Linked DNA regions of Homo sapiens: all the other regions are linked to region 2. Evidence: promoter capture Hi-C in human tissues and cell types (Jung and others, 2019). All regions are on one chromosome and are shown on one strand. Each heading gives the region's core, a stretch centred on a gene start or on the middle of the fragment in contact. The rest is flanking DNA. Distances are from core to core; before and after follow the strand shown. Region 1 overlaps XLOC_008559 (a long non-coding RNA gene). Region 2 holds the start of FGFBP3 (fibroblast growth factor binding protein 3). Region 3 has its middle 130 kb from the start of IDE. Region 4 overlaps PCGF5 (polycomb group ring finger 5).

Region 1 (2,873 bases), core at 349-2,848, 960 kb before region 2:
GAATGGGAGTTTACTCATAATTTGACTCTCTGTCTATTATTGGTGTATAGGAATGCATGTGATTTTTGCACATTGATTTTATATCCTAAGACTTTGCTGAAGTTGCTTATCAGTTTAAGAAGATTTTGGGCTGAGATGACAGGGTTTTCTAAATATACAATCATGTCATCTGCAAACAGAGACAATTTGACTTCCTCTCTTCCTATTGGAATACACTTCATTTCTTTCTCTTGCCTAATTGCCCTGGCCAGAACTTCCAACATTGTGTTGAATAGGAGTGGTGAGAGAGGGTATCCCTGTCTTGTGCTGGTTTTCAAAGGGAATGCTTCCAGCTTTTGCCCATTAAGTATGATATTGCCTGTGGGTTTGTCATAAATAGCTCTTACTATTTTGAGGTACGTTCCATCAAAACTTAGTTTATTGAGAGTTGTTAGCATGAAGGGGTGATGAATTTTATCGAAGGCCTTTTCTGCATCTATTGAAATAATCATGTGGTTTTTGTCATTGGTTCTGTTTATGTGATGGATTATGTTTATTGATATGCATATGTTGAACCAGCCTTGCATCCTAGGAATGAAGCCAACTTGATTGTGGTGGATAAGCTTTTTGATTTGCTGCTGGATTCAGTTTGCCAGTATTTTATGGAGGATTTTTGCATCAATGTTCATCAGGGATATTGGCCTGAAATGTTCTTTTTTGTGTGTGTCTCTGCCAGGTTTTGGTATCATGATGCTGGCCTCATAAAATGAATTAGGGAGGAGCCCTTCTTTTTCTATCATTTGGAATAGTTTCAGAAGGAATGATACCGGCTCCTCTTTGTACTGCTGGTAGAAGTCGGGTGTGAGTCCCTCTGGTCCTGGGCTTTTTTTGGTTGGTAGGCTATTAATTACTGCCTCAATTTCAGAACTTGTTATTGGTCTATTCAGGGATTCCACTTCTTCCTGGTTTAGTCTTAGGAGGGTGTATGTATCTAGAAATTTATCCATTTCTTCTAGATTTTCTAGCTTATTTGCATAGAGGCATTTATAATATTCTCTGATGGTAATTTGTATTTCTGTTGGATCAGTAGTAATACCCTCTTTATCATTTTTTATTGTGTCTATTTGATTCTTCTCTTTTTTCTTATTAGTCTGGCTAGTGGTCTATTTTGTTAATCTTTTCAAAAAACCAGCTCCTGGATTCATTGAATTTTTGAAGTGTTTTTTGTGTCTCTGTTTCCTTCAGTTCTGCTCTGATCTTAGTTATTTCTTGTTTCCTGCTAGCTTTTGAATTTATTTGCTCTTGCTTATCTAGTTCTTTTAATTGTGATGTTAGAGTGTCAATTTTAGATCTTTCCCACTTTCTCCTGTGGGCATTTAGTGCTACAAATTTCCCTCTAAACACTGCTTTAGCTGTGTCCCAGAGATTCTGGTACGTTGTGTCTTTGTTCTCATTGGTTTCAAAAAACTAATTTATTTCTGCCTTAATTTCGTTATTTACCTAGTAGTCATTCAGGAGCAGGTTGTTCAGTTTCCATGTAGTTGTGCAGTTTTGACTGGGTTTCTTAATCCTGAGTTCTAATTGGATTACACTGTGGTCTGAGAGACTGTTTGTTATTATTTCCATTCTTTTGCATTTGCTGAGGCGTGTTTTACTTCCAATTATGTGGTCAATTTTAGAATAAGTGTGATGTGGTGCTGAGAAGAATGTATATTCTGTTGATTTTGGGTGGAGAGCTCTGTAGATGTCTATTAGGTCTGCTTGGTCCAGAGCTGAGTTCAAGTCTTGAATATCTTTGTTAATTTTCTGTCTTGTTGATCTGTCAAATATTGACAGTGGGGTGTTGAAGTCTCCCAATATTATTGTGTGGGAGTCTAAGTCCCTTTGTAGGTCCCTAAGAACTTGCCTTATGAATCCAGATGCTCCTGTATTGGGTGCATATATATTTAGGATAGTTAGCTCTTCTTGTTGCATTGTAATGCCCTTTGTTGTATTTTTTGATCTTTGTTGGTTTAAAGCCTGTTTTATCAGAGACTAGGATTGCAACCCCTTGTTTTTTTTTTTTTTTTTTTTTTTTTGGCTTTGCATTTGCTTGGTAAATATTCCTTCTTCTCTGTATTTTGAGTGTATGTGTGTCTTTGCACGTGAGATGGGTCTCCTGAATACAGCACACCGAAGGGTCTTGACTCTATCCAATTTGCCAGTCTGTGTCGTTTAATTGGGGGCATTTAGCCCGTTTACATTTAAGGTTAATGTTATGTGTGAATTTGATCCTTTCATTATGATGCTAGCTGGTTATTTTGCCCATTAATTGATGCGGTTTATTCACAGTGTTGATGGTCTTTACAATTTGGTATGTTTTTGCAGTGGCTAGTAATAGGTTTTCCTTTCCATATTTAATGCTTCCTTCAGGAGCTCTTGTAAGGCAGGCCTGGTGGTGAAAAAATCCCTCAGCGTTTGCTTGTCTGTAAAGAATTTTATTTCTCCTTCGTTTATGAAGTGTAGTTTGGCTGGATATGAAATTCTGGGTTGAAAATTCTTTTCAAGAATGTTGAATATTGGCCCTCACTCTCTTCTGGCTTGTAGAGTTTCTGCAGAGAGATCTGCTGTTAGTCTGATGGGCTACCCTTTGTGGGTAACCCGACCTTTCTCTCTGGCTGCCCTTAACATTTTTTCCTTCATTTCAACCTTAGTGAATCTGAAGATTATATGTCTTGGGGTTGCTCTTCTTGCAGAGTGTCTTTGTGGTGTTCTCTGTATTTCCTGAATTTGAATGTTGGCCTGTCTTGCTAGGTTGGGAAAGTTCTCCTGGATAATATCCTGAAGAGTGTTTTCCCACTTGGTTCCATTCTCCTCGTCACTTTCAGGTACACCAATCAAATGTAGATTTGGTC
Region 2 (2,947 bases), core at 399-2,898:
ATCACTTTAGTCACTCTATCTCCCCCTTATTCTCAGCCTCCCTCTGCATCGATTTCTCTCCCCAGTCTCCAGTTTTTGCACATTTAAAGTACGCCTATTTCTGTTTCCATTATTTTTCCTGCTCTTAATCAGGACTGAGACTTTTCAAAATTTTTAACTTCTCTGCTATCCCAGAGATTCTCCATACCCCTTACACTCTCATCCCAAGCATCTCACCCTTACCCTTGCCCCCACCCCCATTCGAGAACCTGGACTTCTCCCCAATCTCTATCACAGTACCCCCCGGTCTAAGACGCCCTTAGCTTTCCCTTCCCCACGCCTCCCCCATCAACCCTCCCTAAGCCGGCAGGCAGTCTCAGCCGTTCCAGAAATTGACAAAGAAGTTGCAGAGGGAGTGCCACTTCTCAGCGCAGTAGGTCTCCGTGAGCTCCGCGTTCCCGTCCAGCCCGTCGGGGTCGGGCCCGGTCCCCATGGGTCGCTCCTCGTTGGGGACCAAGGCCGCCTTCCTCTTGCCCTCGTTGGTCTTCCTCTCTGAGGGGTTTTCTTTGGGCGGTGCGCTTTGGGGAGGCGGGGTCCCAGCGGCTGGGCCGGACGCACGCTCCCGGGTCCGCCCCCGGTTCCGGGCCCGGGGCTTGGACTCCCCCGCGAATCCCGCGACGGTGGGGCGTGCGGGCGGGGACGCGCGGGGCACTAGCCGCAGCTCGGCGCCGTGGCCCTTCTTGCCCGCGCACAAGCGGGCCTGGAGCGGCGCGGGGTCGTGACAGGGCCTCCGCTTCTTGCGCAGCCCTCCCAGCACCTGCTTCCAGAAGTGCGCGCGGCGAGCGGCGTAGGCTGCGCAGCGCTCCGGATGCCCGCGGTAGGCGCACTGGTGGCGCGCCCCGTCCGGGCTCTGGCAGCGCAGCGCCAGCTCGCTGCCCGCTGCGGCCTCCGGGGCGGGCAGCAGGAGCTGCCAGCTGCACGCGTGCTGCTCGGGGCTGAGGAAGCGACCCGAGGAGCCGCCAGTGGGCCCGGGGACCGGCTCCGCCACGTTGCTAGCCGCCCCTTTCTCCCTCCGAGCAGCCGCGAGGAGGCAACCACTCAGCAGCAGCAGCAGCGACGGCGACAGCGACGCTCGCAGCTTCGGAGGAGTCATGCTCCGCGGTTTCCGCGCTCCGCTGTTCTCAGACCACGTTTGTCGGGGCTGGACCAGGCAAAGAGCATTCCCCAGGACCTGCGGACAGAGGCAGAGACTGCCACCAACTGAGCCACACGCAGCGCTTCGCCCAGACACATGCACCTGCGAACTACTCTTCCGCAGACTTTCTAGAATCTGCAGCCTGCGAGGAGACCCTCTGAGGAGCTTTCCTGGGGAAACTGCTTACTGTCTAAATAATCACTTTCGAACCATGTATGCATTGAGATTTTCTTCCCCTTGCAAATACGATAGCAAAACGATGCGTGATAATTGCCCCCTCTACCCCTTCCTTCATTTTCTCCCTTCTCCAACCTGCAATAAACTATCTACAAAATCATTTCAGATGATTCCTTGGAAACATGCACTTTACTACACTTTGAACTTACCGAGTTCTGGGAGAGGCGCCAAAGCCTTATTAGGGTAGAGGGAACGACTGCACGGGGGAGTAGTCTGTTTTAGCCGGCTCCCTGTGAATGAACGTGGTATCAATGGAACAGAAGAGGCCTACCCTTCTTCGCCCCTCCCCGATTTCTCTCACACTGGGAGACTTATCACCGCCGCGCTTCTCTCTCTCTCTCCCTCTCTCTCTCTGTCTCTCCAGATGGATGATGGAAGCGGTCCTGTAGTATGAAATACAAATCTTGTATTTTGCTTCCAATGTTTAAAATAATCAGGCAAAATTAACCAAGTTTTTCTTCTTTCATGTACTTAACCATCCAAAAAATAAAAATTAAACAAAAGATCTAAGTTTTAAAAGTTAAATAAAATGAAACAAAACAAACTTCAGTATTCTAAACTAGGCATTTTTTACACAATTATATCATTTACATTCTATTTCTCATATTCTGAGTTCTACATTTTTACCTATTATTTCCAATAGCCTTTCTTAAGACTCTCAATCTTAATAATTGTTACTACTAATAAAAATATAATATCCTAGTTTATTAACATACAATAGTGCCCAGCAGTTCACCCAGGAGTGGACATTTGGGCTTTTTATTATTTTTAGGTATTAGAAATCAGTTATAAGGGTCCTCCAAAAATTAGAAGTTTAAAAAAATTATTTGTATTATAGTAGTTGAACGGTAAGATTACCAATTGAAATGGTATAATAGTTAAGAATGTGAGACCAGCCTGGCCTGGTGAAATCCCGTCTCTACTAAAAATACAAAAATTAGCCAGGCGTGGTGGCAGATGCCTGTAATCCCAGCTACTCAGGAGGCTGAGGCAGGAGAATCACTTGAACCCGGGACAGGGCGAGACTGCCTCTCAAAAAAAAAAAAAAAGAGAGAGAGAATGAATGTGTTCTTGAATCTTGAAAATGTTACATTTAAGCAAAGCTGCTTTTTCTGGAGGGGGGGATTGTGTGTGTGTGCGGGGGTTTGTTTGTTTGTTTGTTTGTTTGTTTGTTTTGAGACGGGAGCTCACTCTGTCACCCAGGCTGGAGCGCAGTGGTGCTATCTCGGCTCACTGCAACCTCTGCCTTCCCGGTTCAAGCGATTCACCTGCCTCAGCCTCCCCAGTAGCTGGAATTACAGGTGCCTGCCACAACACCCAGCTAATTTTTAGTGGAGAAGGGGTTTCACCATGTTGCCCAGTCTGGTATCGAACTCCTGACCTGAGATGAGCCACCTGCCTCAGCCTCTCAAAGTGCTGACCAAGCAAAGCTGTTTTTTCTTTCTTTTTTTTTTTTTTTGCTCTTTTTAAAATTTTTATTTAGAAGCCTACTTGTAGAAGTTAGCATAATTTTACAGATTATTAGAAAAATTCAAT
Region 3 (3,038 bases), core at 8-2,507, 530 kb after region 2:
AAATGGTCTACTTGGGGTTTTCCTGCTTCCTTAAAGTTTCAGTTGGAGGCTGGGCGTGGTGGCTTACCCCTGTAATCCTAGCACTTTTGAGAGGCTGAGGTGGGCAGATTGCCTGAGCTCAGGAGTTTGAGACCAGCCTGGGCAACAAGGCAAAACCCCATCTCTACTAAAAATACAAAAAATTAGCTGGGTGTGGTGGTGCACACCTGTAGTCCCAGCTATTTGGGAGGCTGAGGCAGGAGAATTGCTTGAATCCGGGAGACAGAGGCTGCAGCAAGTTGAGATTGCACCACTGCACTCCAGCCCGGGTGACAGAGAGAGATTCTGTCTCAAAAAAAAAAAAAAAAAGAAAAAAGTTTAGGTTGGGTGTGGTGGCTCACGCCTGTAATCCCAACACTTTGGGAGGCCGAGGCAAGCGGATCACCTGAGGTCGGGAGTTTGAGACCAGCCTGACTAACGTGGAGAAACCCCGTCTCTACTAAAAATATAAAATTAGCCAGGTGTGGTGATTCATGCCTGTAATCCCAGCTACTTGGGAGGCTGAGGCAGGAGAATCGCTTGAACCCGGGAGGCAGAGGTTGCTGTGAGCCGAGATTGCGGCAACAAGAGCGAAACTCCGTCTCAAAAAAAAAAAAAAGTTTCAATTTGATTGTCTGGCACTTTAGCATGAGTGATTCCATTTTGGTTTGGTCTGCTGGGGCTTAGTGTAGGAGCTCAGTCCAAAATAATGGCCTCCTATAAATTTAACCCAGGCTATCAAAGATAAACAAAGCTGGACTTTAATTGAAGTGGTGACAACTGATGTTATTCAGTAACTATTGACAGTAGTGGAAACAGCTGAACTCCATTCTAATTTATACAAGGTGCCTGGGTGTTTTAAAGGGAGAATGAGGGTGTAGGAAGGGGGAGCGACAGGGAACGCAAGTGAAACATTACAAAGGGTTGGTCGGTGTAAATGTGAATAGACTGTGTCTGCAAGCTGGGAATTATGTTTTTTGTTTGTTTTGAGACAGTGTGTCACTCTGTCACCCAGGCTGGAGTATAGTGGCATGATCTTGGCTCACTGTACCCCTAGGCTCAAGTGATCTTCCCACCTCAGCCTTCTGAGTAGCTGGAGGCTGAGGTGGGAGGATTGTCTGGCTAATTTTTTGTATTTTTAGTAGAGACAGGGTCTTGCCACGTTGCCCAGGCTGGTCTTGAACTCCTGAGCTCAAGCAATCCCCTCCGCCTTGGCCTCCCAAAGTGCTGGGATTACAGGCATAAGCCACCATGCCCGGCCACACCAAGCCGGCAATTATGGAAGTTAGGATTCTATCCTCCCACAAAGACTAGGAGACAGAAGCAGTGTTCTCATAATTACATCTTAATTTTTTTTTCTTGAGACGGAGTCTCACTCTGTCGCTCAGGCTGGAGTGCAGTGGTGCAATCTTGGCTCACTGCAACAGCCGCCTCCCAGATTCAAGCAATTCTCCTGTCTCAGCCTCCCGAGTAGTTGGGACTACAGGCGCACACCACCATGCCTGGCTAACTTTTGTATTTTTAGTAGAGACGGGGTTTCACCATGTTGGCCAGGCTGGTCTCGAACTCCTGACCTCAGGTGATCTGCCTGCCTTGGCCTCCCAAAGTGCTAGGATTACAGGCGGCAGCCAATGAACCCGGGGTAATTTTATATTTCTAACTCACCCTACCTTATAGTTGTGGAAAGATTCCTCTGAAACACTTCCCAAAATATCTTTTGCTACAATAAAGAACAAGTGTGGCTGGGCACTGTGACTCATGCATGTAATCCCAGCACTTTGGGAGGCCAGGGAGGGACGATTGCTTGAGCCCAGGAGAGTTTGAGACCAGCCTGGGCAAAATGGCGATATTCCTGTCTCCACAAAAAATTAAAAAATTAGCCAGGTGTGGTGGCGTGCACCTGTAGTCCCAGCTACTCGGAGGCTGAGGCAGGGGGATTGCCTGAGCCTGGGAGTCCGAGGCTGTCAATGAGCTACGATGGTGCTACTGCACTCCAGCCTGGAATGAGACCCCAGCTCTAAAAAATACAAAAAAAAACAGAAAGAAAAGGAAAGAGGCTGGGCGCGGTGGCTCATGCCTGAAATCCCAGCACTTTGGGAGGCCGAGACGGGCGGATCACGAGGTCAGGAGATCGAGACCATCCTGGCTAACACGATGAAACGCCGTCTCTACTAAAAATACAAAAAAAATTAGCCGTGCGTGGTGGCGGGCGCCTGTAGTCTCAGCTACTCGGGAGGCGGAGGCAGGAGAATGGCGTGAACCCGGGAGGCAGAGCTTGCAGTGAGCCGAGATCGCACCACTGCACTCCAGCCTGGGCGACAGAGTGAGACTCCGTACCCCCGCCAAAAAAAAAAAGGAAAAAGAACAAGTGTGTCTACTCTACAGCAGAAATAGAAACTTTGAAAACTATTTTTCTAAATATGTGGTAGAAGCTTTCACTTGGCATTATCAGTACATCTAATTTTAGCTATGCCAGTCTGCATGGAATGGTATCTCATTTTGTTTTTTAAAAAATACTTTTTTCACCAGCAAAGGAGACAAAATAAAATCATGTAAAAAAACTCAAACCAAAAGAAAACATTTAAAAACAATAAAAACAGATTTAAAAAATAGAAAATAAATAGTAAAATAATCAATTTATATCAAACAACTTTTCCCCAGCTTTTTAGTTGCTACAGAACATTTCTGTCTGGGCGCGGTGGCTTACGCATGTAATCCCAGCACTTTGGGAGGCCAAGGCGGGTGGATCACCTGAAGTCAGGAGTTCCAGACCAGCCTGACCAACATGGAGAAACCCCGTCTCTACTAAAAATACAAAATTAGCCAGGCATGGTGGTGCATGCCTGTAATCCCAGCTACTCGGGAGGCTGTGGCAGGAGAATCACTTGAACCCGGGAGGCTAAGGTTGCGGTGAGCCGAGATCGCACCATTGCACTCCAGCCTCGGCAACAAGAGTGAAACTCTGTCTCAAAAAACAAAAAACAAAACAAACAAACAAAAAAGAACATTTCCATTGTAAA
Region 4 (2,833 bases), core at 103-2,602, 630 kb before region 2:
AATTTTCTGGATTAGAAACACAAAACTTGAAATGCAATTATCAATATTTTGTAATATATATTCCTACAGTTTGGGTAGAAATAAGGAACATGTCTGCTAGATCTGGTTTATGAAAAAGTGAAAAATATTAAATACACCAGAGACTCAAACCCTTTCAAGGCACACAATAACTGTTCTGGATTTACCTGACAAACCTAGTTGAGTAGCATTTTGACAGAAAATATCAGACTGAAAGTTCATTCAAATGTACTTAAATGTACAATACAGTGTTCAATAGTTTTTATTGCAGTGATGTTTTTCCAATAATTTAAGTAATTCTCTTCCTAGTATAATACAGTTTTCATAAATAATGTTTACTTGCTTTCTTTATATTTTCAAATAAAATTAAAATGCTCGAGCACTTCCTTTCAGAAAGTTATAAAATTAAAAATAATTATTTTAAATGCTCATTCAAATGTGTCTGTATACTTGCTATGCCCCTTTTTCTATAATTCCAAACTGAGACTGATTTTTCAGAGATTTTTAACTTTAATAATTTTAAATCTAGAATCAAGTGAAACAGATATGTTAAATACTGAGTCTAGTTTTCTTCCATCTTATGGAGCTTCATGGAATAAGAAACTAATCTAGTGCAAATGAAGATTAAATATTTCTGGGTGATGGAGAGATAGTCAACAAATTTATTTATCCATCCTCTGCACATCAGTCCACTGGAGCAGGAGTTCTACACATTAAAAATGTAATGGGATCAGCCTAGCATTGTTTGGTGTTCTTTTGTTGTATTTTTTAGAATGGGGGTGGGGGCCTAAGTGTCCTTATGAAGCTGTGGTCCACGACAGGAGCTTGTTGGGGGAGTACCAGGGTTCTGCTGCTTTCCTGCATCTGAGCAACACAACAGAGATCATCAGTTTTAAATAGAGTAGCCCTCACAATCAAAATATCATAGAATATATTGTAAAGTTATGTTGCTAATTTTCCTTTGAAATATAAAATATTTTAAGCTTTTTGTCAAAAGTGGTAACATCTTAATACAAATAAAAACCTTTTTGTGGTTGTAAGATTTAGCTTATAAATCATTCAAATTGAAGTGAAAGAATTACCAGGTCATTGTTAATGACTTAGTCTATTAAGAATATATGTATTTTTGTAAAGGAAAAGCACTTGTAGATATTTAATCAGTACAAGATATGTCTTTTGCAGAAATAAAATGCTGCTTAGAGATTCTCCTTAAATATTTTTTATTTTTGTGCTCAAATGTATTTTCTGTTGATCTATGGAATGTTCTGTACAAAGCTGTATAATTGTACTGTTGGGCTAGATACTTTTTTTTTTTAATCTGGACTTAGCCAAGTATATTTCACCATGTTAAAATACAGTATCTTTGTTATTAAAAATTAAATTGCATAATTTATTATTGTTTGTCATCTTTAATATTAGTCACTGTAGATTGCAGCCTTCATTAAAAATATCTCCTTTAAGTACTAGTCCTGTAGCAAATTTTATTGAAATTTATTGAGTATTTGAGATCATAAATATTTTCTAAGGATTCTTCAGCTGTTTATTTTAAAATGGCACACTGTCCCTCAAATACTAGTTAAGGTGTATACACACACACCCTTGAAGGATTTTTTGTTTTGTTAGATTAATCAAATCCAAAAGAACGTTTTGAAAGTAATTAGGAATCAAAGGCAGGCCCAAGTGAATTGAAAGAAAGACTGTTTCCTTCAGCCAGTTAGATAGCTAAGCTTTGTTTATTAATACTTTCCATGTGCACTTGCCTCAGGAATTCATTAGGCCAAAGCAAGACATTTACGTCAGGAACACTGTGATGGTTTCTAGCTCGGCCCCATTGTGATTTTGATGCCTGAAGCTTTGTCTTAATGTTAGTGAAACGTTGGAGGTAGCTAGAAACCCCAGTCCTTCGGTGAGATAGGGAAAGCAGCTTTCCTCTGAGCAGAATTTGGCTTCCTTCTGTATTTGAGCTCCACTCTCTTCAAGGCTGCTGCAGAATGGGAAAGAATGTGGAGGACTGTGCATGGGAAGTGCTGGAACATGTAGCACACATTGCTTTCATCACATGTCACTGGCCAGCACATGGCCTCACCTAACAGCAAGCAAGGCCGGAGGACCTAGTGAAGCCACATCCCAAGGAGGAAGAGGAAAGTTTTGTGACCTGCTAATGTCTGCCATACCCTACATTTGCAAAAAGAGGTCACAGTTGCTTTAGGTCTTAGAAGTGTGTTGTCCACACAGGCTCAGCACTTATCTTTTCACTGGTTTGGAAAGGGAAAGAGGGGTCTTGCACTCAGGCCAGGCATGAGAAGCTTGGGAGTCACTCTGCTCTTCGTGTGGCTGGGGAACATGCAGGTAGTATTTTGCTGGAAGCCATGTACAACCCCACTTGGCACCCCAACCCTTGCCGTGGACTTTGCAGTGCCAGGATTTGCCACTAGCAATCAAATAGAGAATAATGCCTGGAGAGGACAAATATGCAGCGATCACTACCAGTAGAAACCAGCAAAGCCCTGTTCCTCTTTACAGAGCCCAGCCTTCCTTACACAGTTCTCCTTCTAAGAAGCCCTGCTCCTCCTTACAAAGCCCCACTCATCCCTACAGAACCTGCTCCCTCTTCAAAGCCCAACTGCTCCTCAGGAAGCACCTCCACTACAAAAGCCTCTCCTCCCTAAAAAGACCTGTTCCTGCAAAGAACTTTTGATCCTCTTAGGAAGCCCTGCTCCTCCTACAAGCTCTGTTTCTGCATATAGTGCCTTGCTCCTCCTCAAAAGGTCTGCTTATCCTTATCCTGCTCCTCCTACAAACCCTGCTCTTCTTT

The links. The method cuts DNA at HindIII sites, captures the fragments that hold promoters and counts their contacts. A contact is called where the count stands out against the background at its distance.
Region 1: a fragment that was not itself captured here is called in contact with the fragment with the promoter of FGFBP3 in region 2 in 1 of the 25 tissues and cell types used here (lymphoblastoid cells).
Region 3: a contact is called between a fragment that was not itself captured here and the fragment with the promoter of FGFBP3 in region 2, in 1 of the 25 tissues and cell types used here (dorsolateral prefrontal cortex).
Region 4: a fragment that was not itself captured here is called in contact with the fragment with the promoter of FGFBP3 in region 2 in 1 of the 25 tissues and cell types used here (dorsolateral prefrontal cortex).

Annotation. Positions count from the first base shown.
Region 1 is chr10:90,951,081-90,953,953 of GRCh38, forward strand. The region is part of intron 3 of XLOC_008559 (a long non-coding RNA gene); the gene reads left to right. Among named protein-coding and RNA genes, the nearest start is that of XLOC_008559, 5.2 kb to the left of the region's middle. The HindIII fragment of the contact is 3,604 bases long and covers 1-2,873 here.
Region 2 is chr10:91,907,838-91,910,784 of GRCh38, forward strand. FGFBP3 (fibroblast growth factor binding protein 3) reads right to left here and starts at 1,649. Exons shown (of 2, transcript NM_152429.5): 1 at 1,561-1,649; 2 at 1-1,210. The coding sequence starts at 1,132. The coding sequence ends at 356. It overlaps FGFBP3-AS1 (FGFBP3 antisense RNA 1), which reads left to right and starts at 292. Exons shown (of 2, transcript NR_199602.1): 1 at 292-412; 2 at 1,060-1,511. RefSeq lists a silencer at 522-1,091 and an enhancer at 995-1,289. The HindIII fragment of the contact is 15,807 bases long and covers 1-2,947 here.
Region 3 is chr10:92,441,488-92,444,525 of GRCh38, forward strand. No RefSeq gene overlaps it. Among named protein-coding and RNA genes, the nearest start is that of IDE, 130 kb to the right of the region's middle. The HindIII fragment of the contact is 5,429 bases long and covers 1-3,038 here.
Region 4 is chr10:91,282,854-91,285,686 of GRCh38, forward strand. PCGF5 (polycomb group ring finger 5) reads left to right here. Exons shown (of 10, transcript NM_032373.5): 10 at 1-1,484. Among named protein-coding and RNA genes, the nearest start is that of PCGF5, 64 kb to the left of the region's middle. RefSeq lists an enhancer at 1,535-2,110. The HindIII fragment of the contact is 3,612 bases long and covers 1-2,833 here.